5 separate regions of the Homo sapiens genome follow, and regions 2, 3, 4 and 5 are each linked to region 1. The links are contacts of gene promoters, found by promoter capture Hi-C in blood cells and fetal thymus (Javierre and others, 2016). All regions are on one chromosome and are shown on one strand. Each heading gives the region's core, a stretch centred on a gene start or on the middle of the fragment in contact. The rest is flanking DNA. Distances are from core to core; before and after follow the strand shown.

What was found. Contacts are between HindIII fragments. The CHiCAGO score rates a contact against its expected background, and 5 or more counts as called.
Region 2: a fragment that was not itself captured here is called in contact with the fragment with the promoter of USP1 in region 1 in 2 of 17 cell types (activated CD4 T cells and naive CD4 T cells); the score reaches 7.5 in activated CD4 T cells.
Region 3: a contact is called between a fragment that was not itself captured here and the fragment with the promoter of USP1 in region 1, in 1 of 17 cell types (activated CD4 T cells). The highest score is 6.2, in activated CD4 T cells.
Region 4: the fragment with the promoter of LEPR here is called in contact with the fragment with the promoter of USP1 in region 1 in 5 of 17 cell types (total CD8 T cells, naive CD4 T cells, activated CD4 T cells and 2 more); the score reaches 7.2 in total CD8 T cells.
Region 5: a contact is called between a fragment that was not itself captured here and the fragment with the promoter of USP1 in region 1, in 1 of 17 cell types (neutrophils). The highest score is 5.1, in neutrophils.

What each region holds. Positions count from the first base shown.
Region 1 is chr1:62,435,258-62,439,832 of GRCh38, forward strand. It overlaps USP1 (ubiquitin specific peptidase 1), which reads left to right and starts at 1,792. Exons shown (of 9, transcript NM_003368.5): 1 at 1,792-2,143; 2 at 4,542-4,575. RefSeq lists enhancers at 259-1,026, 709-1,058, 1,027-1,794, 1,619-1,688 and a silencer at 2,389-2,448. The HindIII fragment of the contact is 3,360 bases long and covers 388-3,747 here.
Region 2 is chr1:65,068,200-65,072,727 of GRCh38, forward strand. No RefSeq gene overlaps it. Among named protein-coding and RNA genes, the nearest start is that of MIR101-1, 12 kb to the left of the region's middle. The HindIII fragment of the contact is 1,674 bases long and covers 895-2,568 here.
Region 3 is chr1:59,805,753-59,810,114 of GRCh38, forward strand. LOC105378758 (a long non-coding RNA gene) reads right to left here. Exons shown (of 5, transcript XR_947426.3): 3 at 1,746-1,876. Among named protein-coding and RNA genes, the nearest start is that of HOOK1, 7.0 kb to the right of the region's middle. The HindIII fragment of the contact is 4,576 bases long and covers 1-4,362 here.
Region 4 is chr1:65,418,798-65,423,398 of GRCh38, forward strand. It overlaps LEPR (leptin receptor), which reads left to right and starts at 1,871. Exons shown (of 20, transcript NM_002303.6): 1 at 1,871-1,943. LEPROT (leptin receptor overlapping transcript) reads left to right here and starts at 1,871. Exons shown (of 4, transcript NM_017526.5): 1 at 1,871-1,943. The coding sequence starts at 1,928. RefSeq lists enhancers at 1,185-1,717, 1,718-2,251, 2,325-2,374 and silencers at 1,365-1,434, 1,455-1,954. The HindIII fragment of the contact is 9,332 bases long and covers 815-4,601 here.
Region 5 is chr1:65,049,021-65,053,423 of GRCh38, forward strand. It overlaps a transcript of JAK1 not described here. Among named protein-coding and RNA genes, the nearest start is that of MIR3671, 6.6 kb to the right of the region's middle. The HindIII fragment of the contact is 1,707 bases long and covers 670-2,376 here.

The sequences.
Region 1 (4,575 bases), core at 542-3,041:
TTAGTAGGGACGGGGTTTCTCCATGTTGGTCAGGCTGGTCTCGAATTCCCGACCTCAAGAGATCAGCCCGCCTTGGCCTCCCAACGTGCTGGGATTACAAGCGTGAGCCACCACGCCCGACCCTGCTTGTACTCTTGAAGGTCAACGTGTAATCCCGCCACTCCCCAGCTCAGAATCATCTAACGACTCCCATCTCCTTACTCGGCTTACCCAGGGTCCTGCCTTTCTCACTCATCTCATCTCCTCCCATCTTATTTCCCAAATTGACTGCGCTCTAAGCGCCCTGGCCTCCTTGCTTCTTTTCAAAACACCAACCACATTAAGCTTCAGGACGTTTGTAACTTGCTGTTCTCTCTGCCCGCACCATTCTTCCCTCAGATTCCTCCAAGCTTTTTCATTCAGCTCTGCTCAAATGTCAACTCAAAGAGGTCTTTCCAGGCTATCGTATCTATCACTTATCTTAGCGTCACTTGTATCTCCCTCTCCAGAATGTAATGCTCCTTTATGACAGGGAATGCCTTTACATCCCTCGCGCCTTGAAAAATGCCTGGCACATAGTAGGCACCTTAAAAATACTTGATTAAATGGATTTGGGCTGAACGTATCCTGCTTAACTGCAGCACTTGAGCTGAGGTCACCTCACCAAAGCAGGCACACAAACACAAAAGGAAGCACACAACCAGATGAGGCCTGCCTGCCGCTCCTGAACCCTTTGGGAGGGCTCGCGCGGGAACCCTGGGAAGCTCCCGCGGCCGGAGCTGGGCCTGAAACTGTTCTTTCGTTTCCTCCTGCGGCCGAGAAAGGGAAGAGGTAAACAGGCGAAAATGAGGCGAGCAGGGGCTGAGGACCGGGCCTCAGCTCTACAGCATTCGCCTGAGCATGTATTGTTATCCGTGGCAGCGCCTTGTCTCATTGGATGGCCCTAGGCCTAGTGTGGCCGCGACTCCGAACTGAAAGCCCAAGCGCGGCGGCGTCCAGCCGGGCAGCCATTTTCCGAAGCTGCTCTCTTGGTAACCCCGCCCGGGCGCGTACGCACGAACGGAGGCGGGGCTTACCGCGAGGGCCTCGCTCCGGAAGCCGCACCCTCCGCGGCGTCCCACCGTCGAGGATTAACAAAACGCCAAACAAGATTTTAACAGTCGGCAGCGAAAGCGCGCACTCGAGCGCCAATGAGAGCGGAAGGAGGGGCACCGCGCCTGAGGAACACTCCGTATGTCGAACAATGATTGGCTGGAGCCCACCTTTCTTCTTTTTTGCTATTAGATGGGCTTGCTGCTCCCGCCCATCTAATTGGCTTTGGTCTAGGTACTTCTGATTGGCTTCCCCCGGGCGGTGGGAGGCGCGGTTTTGGGGATTGTTCATCATGGATTGGTGAATTTGGGCTCCTTCTCGAGGTGGTGGCCCATCCCGTCTGCTCTCTGTCCCGTCTCCCGACCCGTACGCTTTTCCCTCAACTCGCGCGCACGAATGGTTAAAAAAAGGGTGTGAGGCTCGAGCCCGCCAGCCAGGCCGCTAGCACCTCGCGCGCGCCCTCAGCGAGGACCCGCACGAGCTGCCCGGCTCTGTGCCTGCGTTGTTTGAAACTGTGGAACCCGTTAGGCTTTTGGGGAACTACAGTCCCAGCTGGCTCCGGAGCCCGTGCGTGCCAGGGGCGAGTGGCCGTCGCGAGACGGCTCCTGCCTTTCGTGTCTCTGCAGCGTGGAGACTGGAACCGGCAATTTCAAAGGACGCCACGTTCAATCGCAGCGCTGGCGCGGGCGGAGGCTAAAACACGGGGGTCCTGAGACTGAGGAAAACGCGCCAAGTTCCCCTCGGTGGCGGAGTGCTAAAGACCCTAGCGGTTCAGGCGTTCGGCGAGCGGGGCCGCTGCTTGTTGCGCTCCTGGCTCTCCCGGGGCGGGCGCAGATGGGCGCCGCTCCCGGGATGTAGTTGGTGTTGGTGCAAGACGGGAGCGAGCGGCGGTCGGGGTTCCCGCTCTTGGGAGCGGATGGTCACTCCCCCGCGGGGAGGGCGAGCCGACCAGATTTTCCTGGGGCCGGGGACCCGGCGGGCTCGGGGCAGGGACTCACCTGTCGCACCCACACTCATTCGGGTTGGACTTGCCGGCGTCACCGCCGCGGACTTCGCTTTGGGCCATGACCAGGTAAGGAGGGCCTGGGAGGAGGGGCCGGCTCCCGGGCGCGGGGGCAAGTTCGGCCGGCGCGGGAGAGGAGCTGCCGGGGAGACCCCGGGACCGTGTTGGCCTCGCACCCTGGTCGACCTGCCAGGGGGAGCCGTGTGTGCCTCGGGCGTGGCGCCTGTCTTGCCGCCGCCGGGACGCGAGAAGGCAGGTGCGGGCTGGGCGTAAATAGGCCAACTCCGCGGCGAGGGCGCCCGGCGCGGGGGTGTGGGCCGAGGACGCCGCCGCCAGCCTCCCCCGACCGGGCAGCCTGGTCGCTGCTCGTCCTTCCAGCTTTCTTTCCGTTCCCGAGAGCGGTGAAGGATGGGGAGAAAGAAACGTTTCCACGCAGGTTGCCCTGTGTCGGTAATTGCGAAATTTTACCGCGCATTTTCTTTCACTTACACTTTTTCAAGAAGTGTTTAGAACGCCGCGTGTCTTAAACCTTGGCGAAGATGTCCTTGTAGATTTTTGTTGAAAAATCGGAATCGAGTCGTGTCATCTTATAAAGAATTTAAAACTATTGGGACTGAGTGTTCACGCTGTCAACAGATAATGGTCGATTCGTCGTGCTTTCTGCGAAAGTTGATTTAGTTACAGGAGAAATATTTTGGATGTAACAGCCCCCCAGTTACAAGGAAAGCCAGGAGCAAGAAATAGCAAGGAAGATACTGCACCTGGCAAAATGTTACATTCTCGGTGTGAGCTTTGCTTTGAGGGGCTAGGAGGTTTGGTTTTTTGATTAAGCTGACGATCCGCTATTTCACCTGCCTAATCATTCTTCCCTTCTGTGTAGTCTGGTTACTCTGTCGGTTTGAGATCCAGTTTCTGTCATCCATTAAATTGGCTCTCGAGAAAAACCTTTTATCAGAATCATTAATGCTTGGCGATCCCTGAGAACTTAGCGCAGGTTGGTTTATCATTCAGAAGACAGCGCTTCCTCAGAAGCATTAGGTAGACAGGAGAGTAAGTGAAGTTGGAGACAGAATGGAGAGATGGATCAGCTTTCCAGTGCTTCCTGATTTGGGTCTCAGAAATGGTTTCAGTGTGCTGAGTTCAGTATGAATTCCTAGATCAGTGTCAGCCATGTGAAATGCTTATTAAGGATGAAATTTGAGTGAGTCTTGTGTAGTTCATTTTATTACTCTGCATTTTAAATTTGAAACTCGTTGCTGAAGTTTTGGGCTTTAAGTAATTTTATGGTAATACTCTAGTCAGATAATTTTTCCTCCCATGTCCTGAAAAATAGGCCTGATGTAGAAAATATTAACTCCTACACTCCTACAAATGTTGCCATTTTTTTTCACGTGCAAGTTTTACTTTAAAACAGGGTGGGAAAGTTGCAAATGGCAAACCAAATCATCTTTTTTTCCTACTCAAAGCACTATTTTTAAAATCCAAAGTTTTTTAAAAAGTTTGGAAAACGAGTATTGTGGTTTCTAGTGCATTAAGAATTGGATTTACACAAAGTGCATCGAACAGTTTTTTTTATCACGGTCTCAACTTTGCTTGTGTTTTATCTTTCACTTACGGTTTTAGGTATAACTTAACACCATCTCTATGCCTTGAATGCAAATTATTCTTTAATAAGCTTTTTAGGTACTTTATTTTCATATATCCATGTTAATAACTAGAAAAGGCATTGGAAGAGAGGACTCATCGTCCAGCACTACTTTGATTTTCCATTCATCCTTTCCTACCTTGTACTTGAGAATTAGAGGTGGTAGTGCTCAGTCAATATTTTCTGAATGAATCATTATAATGAAATATTAAGTTGTTTTTTTTTTGAGACTAAGTCTTGCTCTATGGCCCAGGCTGGAGTGCAATGGCACGATCTCGGCTCACTGCAGCCTCCGCCTCCCGGATTCAAGGGATTCTCCTGTCTCAGCCTCCTGAGTAGCTGGGATTACAGGCGCCCGCCAGCACGCCCGGCTAATTTTTGTATTTTTAGTAGAGATGGGGTTTCACCATGTTGGTCAGGCTGGTCTCGAACTCCTGACCTCGTGATCCACTCGCTTCGGCCTCCCAAAGTGCTGGGATTACAGGCGTGAGCTATCGCTTCCGGCCCTTGAAATAATAAGTTTTTACTACTTATACTATTTTACTGTAGGTCTACTAAATAGGATATTTTGTAATGCGACCCTTAATCCATAGCAGGCTGATTTTAAAAATTCAGTAGCTTCTGTTTTTTGTTCTTTAAGAACAGTGTGGTATGCTTCTTCATTTAAGCAATAAATATTGAGTGCTTATTGGCAGGCATTAGGTTTTCAAATGTTAATTTCTAATTTGTACCATTCCCTTGGTAAATTTGTTTTCAAAATTGATGATTTTGTTGCCAAAACTGATAACCAAAAACTAATGAAACTTTCTCTGTGATTAACAGATATAATTGGTGATTACAACTTTCCTCTATAAAT
Region 2 (4,528 bases), core at 482-2,981, 2.6 Mb after region 1:
GGGACATAATAGAGTTTAAAGGCCGCCGTATTTTCTAAGTTTTAAAACAGTTTGCTTCGACGCCGTTGTTTATGACAACCGCGTGGCAACACCAGGCACAATCTAATGTTGGTTCCAATCCTTCCCCTCTTTCTCTACCCCCGCTTTCCCCCTTTTCCCAAAGTGGGGCACAACTTGGTGTGGTCTTCAATGGGGATTGGTTTTGTGGGGATGGACCATTCACTACGGATTGATTGATTTAAGAACCGCTTATTTAAATAAGTGGTGTTCAGGGTCAGAGGATTGTTTCAGAAGACAGTTGCATAGAGCAAGGTGGATTCGTGTTACACTGATCTTATTCACATTCAAAGGGAGTGATAGACATTTCATTCTTTCCGAAGTTCACAGTTGCTGAAAAAAAAATATTTGGGAACTCTGCCACTGTTTTCCGGTGAGATATAGAATTTTGTACTCTTGTTTACTACTGGGTTCCCTTCAGGCACTTTCACTTTTGTTTTTCGTGAGTTTCCTTTCTGGTTTTTTTTTTTTTCCTCTATTTCTTAATTCAGAGCAGAAATGGACTTCATAGTTGAGCAGGGTTCCTGGCTTTTACAGGGAGAGAAACGGAGACTCTGAGTAGTGCTAGGAGTTGCTCTAGGGCACACATTTAATTAGAGCCCAGCTTGGATTGCGCCCTGCTCACCTGTCGTTTCTCTTAGGGGTTGGCTATAAGAGGATGGGGTGGGGACGGGACTCACGGAACATCGCTATGTGCTTATTGTGAATTATTTTTATTAGACTCACAGAGTTGACCACTCTCCCCTTTGTGCATCCACTGTATGGTTTTTACATTTATTTTCTGGTGCCTTTCACAGATCAGCGTACGGCACAGTTGCTGTATCTCCCACTAGGGTAAGCTTTGAGGCCAGGGCCATGCCATACTCATTTTATATCTCCCATATTTAGCACCATGACTAGCAATGAATGAGCAAATGAAGGCCTGAAGAGGATCTTTTCCATAATTCCATCCTAGGAAATTCCTTGCATGTTTCTGGTGAAGGTAGAACACTGGAGATGCTTTTTGATTCTTACACCTCTGCAGACCATTTTTGGCAGTCTTCTTTAGTTACAAAGCCAGGCAAAACATGTTTTGCTTTTCTCAATTTTTTAAATCAACTGCTTCCCCCCTCGCCCCGCCCCGCCCCTCGTTTTACCATATTTGGTTCCTCTTCTTTAAATTCTTTCTGATTCATATGAATAAATTAGTTATGCCAACCTTTGCACTTTGTGAGTTGCTTTTGCTTTTAGACTCCAAAAGTTTGATAAAGTTTAAGGTGTGATTTAACCTGGTGCAGACTGGAAGCAAATCATCATGGGCAGACAAGACTCTGATTCTTCCTGGGATCACTGAACTGGGAGACTGGCGGTTGAGCAGGCAAAAGAGGACTGTTGAAAAGATGTTAGCATCAGGCAAAAAGTACACGTTTACCAAAAACAACAACGACAACAAAACAAACAAAAAACAGAATAACTGCCGTATACAATTACAGCTCAGAGGAGGATCTGGATTGTCACAGATCAGTTCTTATACATCTGGACTGATAAGGTTCCATTGCATATCTGAACATGATCTACATGTATTCCTCTGGATGGGGTAAATGAAATTGGTATGAATGATTGTAACATCTACAACCCATATGTTTAATCCTTGATAACAACAGTGTGATAGTAATTTAAGTATATCATCAGTTTGCAGTCAAGGTGGAGATGAAGTCTAATTATATATGTAAAGTCATTTGTTCTTTTGAATACAAAACTGAACAGAAAAAAAAAGAACATGGCTCAAAACATATAGTTATAATAAATACCTCCATACCTCTTGTTTTACACACATGTGCACTCACACATTTTTAAAAAATCAAACTTTAGTCTTCTGAGGTACCATGTAGTGGCTGATTAAAGGAAGTTCTTATAAGCACCTCACCAGTCTTCCTCTCTCCAATATGTACTTGAAAATGACAATTCCTGGAGTCATGGTGAGAGCACAGACTTTGGAGTCTGGTACTAATCTCAGCTCTGCCAATTTGTTAACTGTGTCAGTCTGGGCAAGTTATTTATCAGTTGCGATTCTTAGTTTCTTTACCCATAATATGAGCATTATAACAGCTAGCTCAAGAGTTTTTAGAATTGAAGTGTAATCAAAATGTATTAAGACATATGTAAAGCACCTAGCATGATACTCGGAAAATAATCTTCAATAAAGGGTCATTATAATAATTTTTAAACTGCATTTTATTTACCCCATGCACTTCCCAGAATTATTCTTTCCCTTTTGGCTGCCTGACCTTGGAAATTCAATAAACCTACTATTAATGAAAGTTCTGTGACTATGAAGATAAATCAGAATAGTTCCTGGCCTCAAAAAGTTCACACTTCAGCTTTGGAAGAGATACAGATACAAGGAACTAGACTGATACTGGTAACCGAAAGAGAAGACCACTTTGTACCAGTTTATGATGATCTACCTGAGCTGTATTTAATTAAGATTGGGTTTTTTTTAAAGATTTACTAGTATCGACACAATGATAAAGCTTGTGGAAGCAGGAAAATTCAAGAAAAAAAATCTCACATTTTCACATAAATGAGGAATACTATCTTTAAAACTCCATCTAGTCAGTATAATTCCTCAGCTTTAAGAAACAATTTTCTGATCCATTATAAGAGGCAAGCTTCTTTTGCGTTCATGTGAAAAATATGCCAGGTTGTACCTTTGAAGTAATGTTGGAGAAATGTAGTTAATAGGAAGCACTTCTGGTTGTTAATTAATTAAACCACTTTAATCAAGAACTATTTTCTGAGAAACTTATTCCCAGCCCTGGGTGGGGTGCTAAAGAAACAAAGATGATGAAGATAACAGACTTTGCCCTTATGGAACTCATCATCTAAGAATCAAATGTTTATTGATTACCTACAGGGGATGCAATAGTGAAAGAGATACTGAGCTTAGTCTATTGAGAGATTGATATATACACATATCTTTCTAGCTTCCTCAAGAAGTATGTGATTGACACAGGATTTGGGCAAGACACTCAGTATATATATGTGTGTTTATATATATATATATATATTTTTTTTTTTTTTTTTTTTTTTTTTTTGAGATGGAGTCTCGCTCTGTCAGCCAGGCTGGAGTGCAGTGGCGCGATCTTGGCTCACTGCAAGCTCTGCCTCCTGGGTTCACGCCATTCTCCTGCCTCAGCCTCCCGAGTAGCTGGGACTATAGGCGTCCACCACCACACCCAGCTAATTGTTTGTATTTTTAGTAGAGACGGGGTTTCACCGTGTTAGCCAGGATAGTCTTGATCTCCTGACCTCGTGAATCTGCCTGCCTTGGCCTCCCAAAGTGCTGGGATCACAGGCGTGAGCCACCGCACCCGGCCTGACACTATATTATGTATATATAAATATATTCGGCCGGGCGCGGTGGCTCACGCCTGTAATCCCAGCACTTTGGGAGGCCGAGGTGGGCGGATCACGAGGTCAGGAGATCGAGACCATCCTGGCTAACATGGTGAAACCCCGTCTCTACTGAAAATACAAAAAAAAAAATTAGCCGGGCATGGTAGCGGCTGCCTGTAGTCCCAGCTACTCGGGAGGCTGAGGCAGGAGAATGGCGTGAACCCGGGAGGCGGAGCTTGCGGTGAGCCGAGATCGCGCCACTGTACTCCAGCCTGGGCAACAGAGCGAGACTCCGTCTCAAAAATAAATAAATAAATAAATATATTCTACGCTCCACCAGAGCTTTTTTTTGTTCCTTAAAACAAAGAGTAGGCTGGGCGCAGTGGCTCACACCTGTAATCCCAGCATTTTGGGAGGCCGAGGCAGGTGGATCACGAGGTCAAGAGACCATCCTGGCCAACATGGTGAAACCCCGTCTCTACTTAAAAAAAAAAAATTAGCTGGGCGTGGTGGCATGTGCCTGTAGTACCAGCTACTCAGGAGGCTGAGGCAGGAGAATCGCTTGAACCCAGGAGGTGGAGGTTGCAGTGAGCCGAGATCACGCCACTGCAATCCAGCCTGGCGACAGAGCAAGACTCCATCTCAAATAAAACAAAAACAAAGAGTAGCTCTTGAAAGAATAGTTGGTCTCTGTAGCCCAAGTGAACCTGGAAACCTGGGAGCCTTGCTAGCTTTAGGCAGAACTGTGAAGTGGGTTAAGTTATTTTCAATTTCCCTCAAATCTGAACTATTGAAATAGCTTTCTGGTCTCTCAGTTCCTGTCCTTCTGAACTCTGTTTTGTTTTCCACAGGCTACTACAGTGATTCTAAAATGCAAACCCTGTTACACTGTTCCCCTGCTTAAAAAACTTTCCTGGCTCCCCATTATCTGCCAAGCATGACACACAAGACCCTTTGTGATCTTGCTCTGCCAAGCCTTCCAGCCTCATCCTCCATCACACCCACAGGAAGAGTTGCCAGATTTATTAAATAAAAATATGAGACGCATAGTTAAATATAAATTGCAGATAAACAATAACTTTTTGGCATAAAC
Region 3 (4,362 bases), core at 929-3,428, 2.6 Mb before region 1:
CACTGTGTTGAACAAAAACAATGCTGACTCCCTGAAGAACTATTTCAGTAACAAGGGAAAATACAGAAACTGCAATGATTGAAGAAGGATTGTATATGTTATGTTTTATTTGCAATGATTGTCTTTAAAAATCAGCTCTGATCTCCCCAAGGATGAATCTCTTCTTCACATCTGGAAAGAGGTTTTATGAGGTATGCAATTTATTAGTTGTATGAGCTTGGGTGCCTCTTGATGCATCAGTTCCCTCATCAGTAAGATAAAGTTGAAAAATATTACTTACTTTATCAGGTTGTTAAGGATAAATGAATTAGTGTAAGTGAAGTACATTGAATAGTGCACAGCACCTAATAAGTGCTGCATGTTTTAGCTATTATTGTTTTTTTTTTTATAGCTTTATGATTGGATATGTTCTCAGTCACCAATTGTGTTCATAGAAAACTTTTTTTTTTTTTTTTTGAGATGGAGTCTCGCTCTGTTGCCAGGCTGGAGTGCAGTGGCATGATCTTGGCTCACTGCAACCTCCGCCTCCCGGGTTCAAGCGATTCTCATGCCTCAGCCTCCCGAGTAGCTGGGACTACAGGCCAGCGGCACCACGCCTGGCTAATTTTTGTATTTTTAGTAGAGATGTAGAGACGGGGTTTCACCAGGCCAGGATGGTCTCGATCTCTTGACCTCATGATCCTCCTGCCTTGGCCTTCCAAAGTGCTGGGATTACAGGCGTGAGCCACCGCGCTTGGCCAGGAAACTTTTTTTTTTTCTTCTTTCAGACGGAGTTTTGCTCTTGTTGCCCAGGCTGGAGTGCAATGGCATGATCTCGGCTCACCACAAGTTCTGTCTCCCAGGTTCAAGCGATTCTCCTGCCTTGGCCTCCCGAGTAGCTGGGATTACAGGCATGTGCCACCATGCCTGGCTAATTTTGTATTTTTAGTAGAGATGGGGTTTCTCCATGTTGGTCGGGCTGGTCTTGAACTCCTGACCTCAGGTGATCCACCCGCCTCTGCCTCCCAAAGCGCTGGGAAGGAAATCTTTTTATAGTGGCAAATCCTTTAATGAAATGTGCAGCTCCCTCTTTTCTGTATAAGGCTAGGTCCTACCCAATAGTTTTGTTTTTCATTATTTCTTGGTCGTTTTGTTTTAAAGATCTTTGGGGAATATTCCCAAATCACATTAGGAAGTACTCATTTACTGGGTTAAATCGTTTCAAACATTTTACTAGCCATGAGCTTCAAGGAATTTTCTGCAAGAGCGTTTAGTAAACCCTTTGCACATCTTTCCTGGCATTCCGGAACATTTTTGTTCTTTGTTCTTATAGCCCAATTTGTTAATGCTTATGATTAAGAAGCCCCCTTTTCTAGTGTCCATAAATGATCGGATAAACTTCTTCCCTCTAACATTTTGACGTTTTAAGATGTATTATATTATATATAGGCTATACTTATCTAACACATGAAGGGAAAGCAAGATATTCTAGCTCCTTAGGCAAATATCACTTCAATGTATTTTCAACTGATATACATGTAGAGGCTTCAGAATGCCACATTTTGTAACGACAGTTTCAAATGTATTTTTCTCAAGCGGTAATAAAAAATAATCACTATTTCTAACATAGTGATCTCTATCATCCTTAAACATTATGTTCTTATTAAACCTGTGAAACCAGTCTTGTGAATGTGATTGTATCTATTTTCCATACATATAATGTAATTAAATAATTTTAATTTTTAAAATATTAATTTTCAACACACCTGAAAACAATAGGAGCAGCCAGGCATGGTGGCTCATACCTGTAATCCCACCACTTGGGAGGCTGAAGCAGGAGGATTGCTTGAGCCCAGGAGTTTCAGATCAGCCTGGACAACATAAGAAGACCGCATCGCTACAAGAAATGAAAAAATTAGCTGAACATGGTGGCACGTGCCCGTTGTCCCAGCTACTCAGGAGAGAGAGGTGGGGGGGATCACTTCAGCCCAGGAGTTTGAAGCTGCAGTGAGCCAGGATCATGCCACTCCACTCAAGGGTGACACAGTGAGACCTCGTCTCAAAAACAAACAAACAAACACCAATAGGAGGTACCCTTTGTTATATTGTAATTCTTGCTTTTTAGAGACAAACATCTGTGGATTAAATGATTAGACACTCACTATGTGTCACTGTTTGGTCTTTGTTTTAAAAACCTGCTTACATGGATTAGAAGGATTTTTGTACATAAAAAATAGGTCACCAACTGAATGAGAACCATGGATCATCTCTTCCAACAGAGTGTAAAATGATGACAGGTCTTGTGATTCACTCAGATAAACTGAGATATAAACTCCATGATTTATACGTTTAAATGATACTTTAGATTGGTTACATTATCGGTACATTTTTACTAAATGCCTATTTTTACTTGTTTTTAGGTATTTGAAAATAAATGCTACATTTACCTTGCTATTTAAATTTTTTCTCATCGGAGTTATTAAGGACAAGATAAATTATGTGCGATTATGTTTGATTTAGAGCTTTGGGGTGAGTTTATATATGCTTAATAAATCAAATGGTTACATTTATTTTTACTTAATAAATGGCAAGCTAAACACTCTTCCCTGTAAGTTTAAAACATAATTGATAAGATTACTCTGTATTGTGATTTATCTTTTTTGTAACTTTTGTTTCCCCAGGAACCTGTCTTAAATCCTCCAAGGTGTCATTCATTTAGTTATTTGACACTAAGCCCCTAAGTGAAATTATAACTATGGCTAAAATCCTTCCTCATTTTGGAGGCTTCTAATCCAAGAACCAAAGATGCCAACATTCTTCCTCTGTGACTATTTTAACTTTGTGGTTATGATACCTATTGCCACACTTTCAGTCCTACTTGTCCACACTTAAACACCATGCTTTCCCATTCTGAGTGATGGCACCCTCATCCCCACCCAAAGCTACTGTGGGTGCTACTGCCTTACAGAGTATACTGTGGTGTGCTGCCTGGATATTTCCAGCATCTTGGAGTGCTTTCAGCAGACAGCCATCAGCCATCAGCCTTCTTTGTGAATTGCCTAGGCTGCCACGTCACCTCTCTAGGGCAGCCCACATGCAATGAATGATTTGTCAACATGGAAGCGTACAGACCAACTCCCCTCATTCAAACTTGGAACAACTTGGAAGGACCATTCCAGCTTCAGCACTCCCCAGGGATAAGTCAAGACTTTCATTGAGCCTGCACCACAACCTGCTTTCTCCCTCTGCCCACTACTTCTTCCTTCCCTCCTCTCTCACAGCTGTTATTCCCAACAGCATTTCTTAATAACCCTCCAACATGCTAATCTCCATCTCAGGGTCTACTTCCTGGAAAATCCAATTTACAACAGGCTGCAATAACAAAAGTCCTCGAAGTTAAGATTTTTTTTTTCTGTTTATGGTACAATTTTAAAATCTCTTGCTCTATGGATGCGCATTCTCTAGTGACAGAGATGTCGTCTCCCTTAATTTGAACTTGCACTTGGCTTCAATTTCTCCATTGAATCCTTAGAGTAATCTCTCTTTGGGCAGCCCAACAGGTTGGCAATAACATCTCTTGGAAGTAAAATGCATTAAAAGGCAGTTTCATTAAGTGATATAAAATCCATGTAACTCAAGTCTTCAACAGCCCTAGAAGTAAAATTTCCAGTATCTCATACAGTTCCTAAATTAATATTAATTTCATAGCAAGAGTGAGTTTCAAGCCAGTGTGAAAAATAAATGAATATTCATTTTTACACACAGTGGGAAGGAATCCACATCCTTGATCACCTTTCTCCAGTCTCTACCTTAATAGTTATGCTGGCTGAAAATATCCATAGGATATTTGTCCCTATCTTCCCAGTCCCATTACCTAAACATTCAGATCCAAGTCAATTATGGTCAAGGTTGTTCCATTAACAGAAAGCTAAATCTTACCCATAATGTCTGGGATTGGTCTTGCTTCCCTAAACCCTAGTATGGTATTTGATGGAGCTCAAATACACCTTAGGTATTTGTGCCCACTGTGTTTACAGGTCTAAGAACAAGGAGGTGTTGTAAAACGTCAGTTTTCATTCCTGTCTCTCTTTCTGTGACTCTGCCTCGGGCATATAAATCTCCTCCCTCGGGGCCTGGAAACTATTATTCCAAAGTACCTCCCAGATTCTGAAAATTGTCACAGCTGCTGCATTCAGCTTCTTCTGAACTTTGATATTGACTTGAGGTAGCCTGAGTTTGCAATTTGCTATAATTCTTTGCCTATTTGATTGCAGACCACTCTTGTGGGCATCATCCAGAAAAGCAAACTAATCCCTATGGTGGATCTCATATCATTCTGGCTACCTCTGTCTCGGTTGCTGAGATTGAGCCTATGTTGCAGTT
Region 4 (4,601 bases), core at 621-3,120, 3.0 Mb after region 1:
GAGGGAGGGCAGAGTGCTTTTCTAGTACCGTGTACCTATTTGCTTCTTCCTAATTGCCTTCAGCTCAAAATAATCCTTAAACCAAAGTGGCATACACTGCCAATGCTCTTGAGTAGATTGAAGGCTCCAAAGTAAAAAGTGCTGTACTGTAGTATTGGATCTCCAAGCATCAGCAGTGAGTCAGGTATTACAATGCTGTTTTCAGTGAGTGTGCCATCCGTCTATGAGGAGAAATGAGAGGAGCTAGAAAAATAAACTGACAGCTAGAAAAATACTCCACTGAATCAACAAATAGACATTTCTTGAAACAGTAACATGCTCAATGTGCAATTTTGAAAAAGTAAACTGAGCAAGGATCATGAAACATGATGGTGGTGAGAATTTATACTTCTCAGGTAGCCAGGGGAAGCTAGGTTTCCACAGATTCCTTTGTCTTTCAGTCCTTTTGAAAACGGAGAAAAAGCAAGAGAAGAGGGACGGCACCATCAGGTAGAGTGGATCTCAGCTAGAATGAGGGGAAGTGGCCCAGAATCCAACCTCCTCCAAAGAGCTGTGTGACAGGCAAGTCCTATCCTTTCTGCACCTCTTTCCTTAAATGTAAGTTGAAGCATTTGGACCAGACTGTTTCAATGATCTTCTAGATTGCTTTTGCCAAAACAGAACTCTCCATTCCTGTAAGATAAGTACACAATGGCTCTCAGAGATCTAAAAACTGGCCTTGGTTACCTGCAAACTTTGAGGCCCCAAGGCACAAAAATAATAGCTTTTTTTTTTTATTTTTTTTTTTAAGGTTCATGAAAGCTTCGGACACAAAAGCTTATATGGTCTTCGTCTCTATAAATAAACCAGGGAGTAAAGAAAAACCCCGCTAGTTTCAGTAAAGCGTTGCTATTAAGCAAAGCAAACCTATGCAAATATCAAGTTCTTAATGAGGAGTGTTTCCTAAGGGGCCTGTCCTCTGGTACCCCGCCTCTCCTCTGCCACAGTCATGTGAAGGCAGACAGGCACACACTCGCACACTAGCACGCACTTGGGAGCTCAGGGAACATAACACTGGTTAGTGAGTCGGTGTCCCTCTCCCATCGATTGCAACTTTTCCCCTCCTTCCCTCTCCTGCCTCTCCCCACTTTCTACATCTCCGTTCTCAGGAAGGCTCAGGGAGGATCCCCCGCTGCGTGCACTGCGTTCTGAGAGGCCGGGGAGAGACTCTGGGCCCGCGGTCGGGGCGGAGCCAAGGTCCCAACCCACATTGAACGGGCTTGAGGATTACTTGGAGGGCTCAGGATCTAGGAGGAGGGCCCAGGGCACTGGGTTGGGGTTACTCTGGGAAAGCTCTGTGGGACCAGGTGGGACCTTAGGGCTGGAGATGGACTCTGCGAGCTGGGGGCGGAGTTCTAGACTGGCAGGAGCGGAGTTCTGGGTGGCGGGGGCGGGGTCGGGACCAGCAGGGACGGCCTCTGAGAGTTGGGGGCGGAATTCTGGGCCGGTGAGGGCTGGGGCGGGACCAGCAGGGGAGGCCTCCGCGAGCTAGGGGAGGAGCTCTGCATTGTCTGGGGCGGGGCTTCGAGTAGCGGTAGCGAGGTCTGGAGCCGCAGGCGCTGCCTCCGCGAGGTAGGGGAGGAGCTCTGTACTGTCAGGGGCGGGGCTCTGAGTAGCGAGGCCGGGTCTGAACTATCAGGCGCGGCCTCTGCGAGCTGGGGGCGGGGTTCTGCACCGGCGGGGGCGGGGTTGTGAGTGGTGGGGGCGGGGTCTGGAGCAGCAGGCGCCGCGTTTGCGAGCTAAGGTCGGAGTTCTGCACCGGCGGGGGCGGGGCTCTGCGTGGCCGGGGCGGGCTCGGGATCCGCGGGGCGACTCCCGGTCTGGCTTGGGCAGGCTGCCCGGGCCGTGGCAGGAAGCCGGAAGCAGCCGCGGCCCCAGTTCGGGAGACATGGCGGGCGTTAAAGGTACATCGCGGTCCCCGGCTCGCTTGTCGTGTGGTGGGGTTGCCACCTCCGTTCCGGTCAAGCCTGGGGCTGCGCCTTCCGCGCGCCGTTGGGGAACGGCCTCACCACCCTTCCCGCCTCTCCGGTTCGGGAGGCGATCGACCGCTCCCTTCGTCCCTTGGGGTGTGGGTGGAGCGGCGTTTCGGGGGAGCCTTGGCCCTTTTTGCAAGGCCGCTGGCCTTCCTGCTCTCCAGTGGCGGCACCAGACCCCTCCCCAGCCTGAGCCCTCGGCGAGAGCGGCGCCCTCCACCTCTCCTGAGTTTTTAAACAAGGTTTCCACTTCTTGACGCCACCCTAACGCCTTTCTTCTGGTTTTCTGCCCCTCCGCAGTTTCCTATTTGCCACAAAGGACCCTTTGTCTCCAGCGTTCTTAGCATTGGGAAACTTAATCCTCTTTTTCCTAATGATTTTTCCAACTGGGCAGAGTTGACCGCGGGCGGGTGTCAATGGAAAGCACCCAGAAAGACGGTGTTTCTCGCAGTCGTGGAGAGTAGATTACGTGTAATTTTAATACTGCTTTCTTCGGTGTTTTCTCTGTTTATGGACAGAGAAGAAACCAGTGTGTGTGTAGTATGTGTTTTTTGCATGGGGCAGTTGGTAAAAACACCGCGTCCCTTATCTGTATGGCTTCAGAGCAATGCGAGACGGAAAAGGTTTTTTGCAAGGCTTCCTGTATTTTGGTAGGAAAACATTCCATTTCTAATCTGTCGAATAGAGTAGCATGACTTGTTTTTATATTGGCTTTTATATCATCCTTGAAATTTGCACCCAAAGATATCCCCAGTTAACATCTGCTATAAACATGTAGATAGTATATATACGAGTACGCCTCTGTTCACTATGAATTTATCCGAGTATGTGAGCTGTTAGCAGCAGACATTTTATCGTTATTTCTGGCTGACTTTTATACTTAATATCAGTTTAGTAAACATGGTTTACTTGGAGAGTGTCGACTGTGTTATATATCCATTTGAAGCCAATGCCGAAAACAGATGAAAAGTAGTGTCTCAGTACTACACATGATCAGAAACTACCAAATCATGATCACGTTTATGTGTGAATGTGTTAGAAAATTGTGATGTAGTGAAAAAAAAGGAAGTCTGAAATGGAAACGGACTAAGGGAAGGAAGCATTTTACAGATTGTTCAACTTTTATTGAGGAACTACTGTATGCCAGAGACTTAGGATACAAAGATAAATGAGAAGTTATTGGTGGGTGACAGAGCTGGAAATAATTATATTACTATGTCAGTGTTTATGTTGGGCTCAGATGCGGTGGGAGAACAGATGGTGGGTTGGATTTTGTCCTCCAAAAAGATGTGTTCAAGCTCTAATTCCCTGGTACCTGTGAATGTGATCTTATTTGGAAGTAGTATCTTTGCAGATATAATCAAATTAAAATGATAACTGGTTTAAGGTGGGCCCTAATCCAATGACTGGTGTCCTTATAAGAAGAGGGGAATTTAGACATAGAGACATACAGGGAGAATACCATGGGAAGACGGAGACAGAAATTGGAGTGATGCAGCTACAAAGTCAGGAGCACCAAAGATTGTTGGCAACCATGCTGGCAACCACTGAGTGTTAGGAAGAGGCAAGGAAGGGTGCTTCCCTACAGCCTTCAGAGGGAGTGTGGTGGCGCTGCTGACACCTTGATTTCAGAAGTCCAGCCTCCAGAACTGTCAGAAGATAAATTTCTGTTGTTCTCAGCCATCCAGTTTGTGGTACTTTGTAACGGCAGCCCTAGGAAGCTGATGCAGGTGGGATTGATTCCCCTGCTCCAGAGAAAGGACTGTTTTCACAGAAGAGGCGATGCTTGAACTGAATCTGAAGGGATCAATGTGGCTTCCCTTGGCAAGGCATGGAGTGAAGGTGGAGTATATCCCAAGTGGGGAGGACAGCACGTGACATGGCGCAGGGCTTATGAAACAACATGCCTTCTTCTCTTCAGGTACTTAAGCTACATTAGTAAGACCAGAACTTAGTGGTGAGGGTTGAAGCTGGCTGGACAGGCAGTTAGGAGTGAGTCAGGCGATGGTGAGCCTCCGTGCCAGAACAACTTGTAGGCTGTGGAAGCAACCGCAAAGGGATGGCAGCGGTGATATATATAGTTGAAAGATCACTGTCTGCTGTGTAGAGGATGGATTGGAAGAGTCACAGAGGCAGGAATAAGAGGTTAAGGGCCTGCACCAGGGCTGTAGCAGAGAGTTTAAGAAGTCTGGGAGATTGAGTCACCTTGACCTACTGATTCATTGGAAGGTGGAATGCAATCATGGTGTCAGTCCTCTAAGATAGGACCTTTAAAGTGTAGGGATAGTGGTTTGGTTTTACACGTGTTACACATGTTGAATTTGAGGTTCTTGTTGGCGGTCAAGGCAGAGAAGTCCAGACTGGAGGTGGAAGTACAGGCCTAGTTCTTTAGGACCTACTCTGGGCTGGAGCATCAGTTGCGGCCGGGCCCTTGTGGTAGTAGGAGCTTTGGGTTGAACATAAGTTTTCAGCAGGAGTGCGTGGAGTGAAAAGAGAGATGGGGTTGGATTTTTGGTCAACTCCAACTTTAAGAGATTCAGAGGATGTGATTCCTGAAAAAAGAGGAAAAAAAAGACCAAAAAGAATCAA
Region 5 (4,403 bases), core at 273-2,772, 2.6 Mb after region 1:
ATTGGAAGTCCCTCATTCACTGTCAATAGCCTTTTTCTGCTGTTAGGGGGCTTGCATCCACAATCTGCCCCTTCCAGGGGCAGCTGTAACCACCTGGACTTCAAAAGGAGTAAGGGCGAGGCCTGGCATGGTGGCTCATGCCTGTAATCCCAGTACTTTGGGAGGCTGAGGCGGGAATATCTCCTGGAGCCAGGTGTTTGAGACCAGCCTGAGCAACAAAGAGAGATCCTGTCTCTACAGAAAAATTTAAAAATCAGCCGGCCAGGTAGTGCACACCTGTAGTCCCAGATACTCAGGAGGCTGAGGCAGGAGGATCCTTTGAGCCCAGAAGTTTGAGGCTGCAGTGAGCCATGATCGTGGCCCTGCACTCCAGCCTGGGTAACAGAGTGAGATCCTGTCTCAAACAAACAACAATGACAAAAAACACAACCCAAACAACAACAAAAAGACTACACAAAAACTCACTTCTTCACGAACTTCAAAAGAGGTTGGTCCCTAGAAGAACCACCCACCTTGGTGGGCATGAGCTTTCTGACTGGCCACGGGTCCTTCCTTTGGGATACCATCCATATTCTAACTCACTCCTTGGGGCACATGTTTGTTGAGAGGCACTGCTGTGGTCCACAGATGGGTTGTGGAGGGTACTCTTTTGTGGGGCACTAGCAAAAAAGCTTAAGTTCCAAGCCATCACCCACATATTCACTGGAGGCCATGATGTCCAAGGAACCTCATATCCTCACCCCACCAAATGTAGTGTCGCTCCCTGTCTCTCTCCTGCCTCCTTCTCTTAGCATTGCAAGCCCTGGGCATAGGGAGCTCTTTCTGGGATAGTGGCTTACCAATTTTCAGACAATCATGATGTCAAATTCGCATGCTCCGCTTCGCTGAGAGAAGTTCCCACAAAAGGTGACATCTCCCCCTCCTCCAGTCATCTTTTTATGGGGGTGAAGGGTGGGGGCAATGTGAGAATTGGTTCTGCTGAAATGACACCTTTTGAAAAAGCTCTGCAGGAAAATGCCGCAGAGATGCAGATCTCTGACCACAGAAAGTGGGGATTTTGAACACCTTGTTTTTAGCTGTGGGTTCTTCTCACCCATACTTAGCAAACAGGAAACATTCCACTCACATCTCATAGTACACTAGTTTTCTACTGTGAACTCCATGCCAGGCTTATGCCAGACACTGCAAACACAACAATGGGTAGAGCCATGTTTCTTGTTTCACAGAATTCGCCATCTAACGAGACATTAAAAATATGCACCCGCAACACACGTGATTCAACTGTGACAAGTGCTCTGAAGGAAAAGCACAAAGTGCCATGAGATCAGACCTAGGCAGGATGTCAGGAAAAGGTCTCTGAGGAATCAGTACTTAGCCAGAAACTGAAGGATAAGAGGTAAGGTGAACTGAATGGTAAGGGTGTCCCAGGCAGAAGGAAATGCATCTGACACAGAAAGGACTTGATTCCCTGACAAAGGCCAGGCCAGTCAACTGGGTACAAGAGATGGGACCTGAGGAGTAGGTGGGACCACACTGCCCAGGGCATCATGGGGCAGCTGAAGAGGAGAAGCCACTAGAGTGTTTTAAACCAGAGGGTTTTTAAGTGATGGCATGATCAAACTTTCATTTTACAGAGGTAACTCCAGCTGAAGAGTAGAGAAGGCATCAGAAAAAGGCAACAGTGGACAGGGGAGGCAGTGTATGGTGCAAATTTTAAAGCAATTTTACACATGCTGGGTCTAACTCTGTTTCGAAGCCTCACCTACTAATCAACATAATATTAACTTCTTACATTGTTTCTGGACTCAAATGCCTGCTTCATCACTGACTAGCTGTGTGGCTTAGGGACCCACTGGGAGCCTGAGAGCCTCCTCAGGTTCTTCAATTAGGAAACATGGAGAACTCTTCTACTCTTTGAGGATTTCAATGAGGATGAAATGAGTGCTTTGGTACACAGGCGCTCAACAAATATTGACTCATCTCAAGCAAATACAATTAAGGAAATAAAAGGAGAAAGGGAAAGCCTCTTCTAGCTATTTGATCCAATTACTTAAAATTCTACCTGTAAATTATGCAGGGGATAAGCATTTATTTAACAGTAGCAAATTTTATGCTATTAGACTAGTGCTATTAGAATAGCTTGAGACCTGATAGGTATGTCAGGTTTTTTTTTTTTTAACAGAAATTAGTGAATGATGATAAGTGGAAAGATTCATGTCTCAATATACACTATATATTACACTAGACTTTTAAAATTAAAAATCCATAATTCCCTCTCCATAAAAAAGGGTGTCTATATTCCCAGTGATATGGTTTTCCAGAAATCTAGTCCCTATCAATATAAATCTGGGAATTTCTGCCATTCCAGAGGATCTAAGCTTCTACACTACCAATACTGCATACTAAGGTATCAGCAAATGTAGCACTCCTCCTCAGTCTGATGTCCACAGCACACCCGGGTTGATCACAGGTAGACCCAGAAAGGTGGTTACAGCACTCCTTCCTGCAGAGCCCAGATGTGGTCTCAGAAGTCTTCCCAGCAAAGTGCCCTAGACAGCTAGCCCCCAGTGGACCCCAAGATATTCCTGGTTCGAAGATACTCATTTTCAAATTGAAAAAAACCAATGGGAGTCTAAGTAATTTTTCTGCAATTTCATTTACAAAGATAGTAGCAAAAAAGTGAAAATACATTTTCTACAGACTAAATCGAAATGGTTCTCTATTTCTTCTCACCTTTTAACATCATCAATCTCCTCATAATCTCATGGAAAATAAAATACAGTAATAGTCTAAATGCACAAAGCAACGTATAATCAGCTTACTTTACTCCATTTCAATTATGTGCATTTTAACATATTTACATTAGAAGCATGTATTACAACCCGAAACCTTGTCAGACAGCTTAAAGAACCCAGCTGAGAATGTTCCATACCTGCTTGCTTATTTGTTTATTAAGAGACAGGGTCTGGCTGTTACCCAGGCTGGAGTGCAGTGGCACCATCCTAGCTCACTGCAGCATCAAACTCCTGGGCTCACGCAATCCTGCCTCAGCCTCCGGAAGAGCTGGGACTACAAGCATGCACCACCACGCCTGGCTATTTTTTTTTTTTTTTTTTTTTTGGTAGAGACAGTCTCACTTTGTTGCTCAGGCTGGTCTTGACCACTTTGGTCTCCCAGAGTACTGGGATCACAGATGTGAGCCACCACACCCAGCTCAGGCACACATTCTTGTACTTGGCAATCTCCTCCAGTGGGAATCCTTACACTCATCATGTCTTAAATATGAAAGAAAAATACAAAATGGACTTTTGGTGCCTCCCTTACCTAACTCGTTCATGCTTCATGAAGAATTCTTGTGGTTACAAATGATGACTAGGCCGGGCATGGTGGCTCACACCTGTAATCCCAGCACTTTGGGAGGCCGAGGCAGGTGGATCACCTGAGGTCGGCAGTTCAAGACCAGCCTGACCAACACGGTGAAACCCCGCCCCTACTAAAAATACAAAATCAGGCTGGGCGCAGTGGCTCATGCCTGTAATCCCAGCACCTTTGGGAGGCCGAGGCGGGCGGATCACGAGGTCAGGAGATCGAGACCATCCTGGCTAACACGATGAAATCCCATCTCTACTAAAAATACAAAAAACTTAGCCGGGTGTGGTGGTGGGTGCCTGTAGTTCCAGCTACTTGGGAGGCTGAGGCAGGAGAATGGCGTGAACCCGGGAGGCAGAGCTTGCAGTGAGCTGAGATCGCGCCACTGCACTCCAGCCTGGGCGACACTCCAGCCTGGGCAACACTCCAGTCTGGGCACTCCAGCCTGGGTGTCAGAGCGAGACTCCATCTCAAAAAAAAAAAAAAAAAAAATTAGCCAAGCATGGCGGCGCATGCCTGTAATCCCAGCTACTCAGGAGGCTGAGGCAGGAGAATCGCTGGGACCCGGGAGGCACAGGTTGCAGTGAGCCAAGATCACGCCATTGCACTCCAGCCTGGTGACAGAGCAAGACTCTTGTCTCAAAAAAAAAAAAAAAAAAAAAAAAAAGACTAGAGGCTGGGCACAGTGGCTCACGCCTGTAATCCCAGCACTTTGGGAGGCTGAGGTAGGCAGATCACCTGAGGTCAGGAGTTTGAGACCAGTCTGGTCAACATGGCGAAACCCCATCTCTAAGAAAAAATACAAAAATTAGCCAGGCATGGTGGCATATGCCTGTAGTCCCAGCTACTCGGGAGGCTGAGGCAGGAAAATCGCTTGACCCGGGAGGCGGAGGTTGCAATGAGGCAAGATTATGCCACTGCACTCCAACTGGGCGACAGAGCAAGACTCCGCCTCAAAAAAAACACAAAAACAAAAAACGATGACTGGTAATGGTGAAGACAAAGTATGAATAGAATGCACCTGTAAATATGAA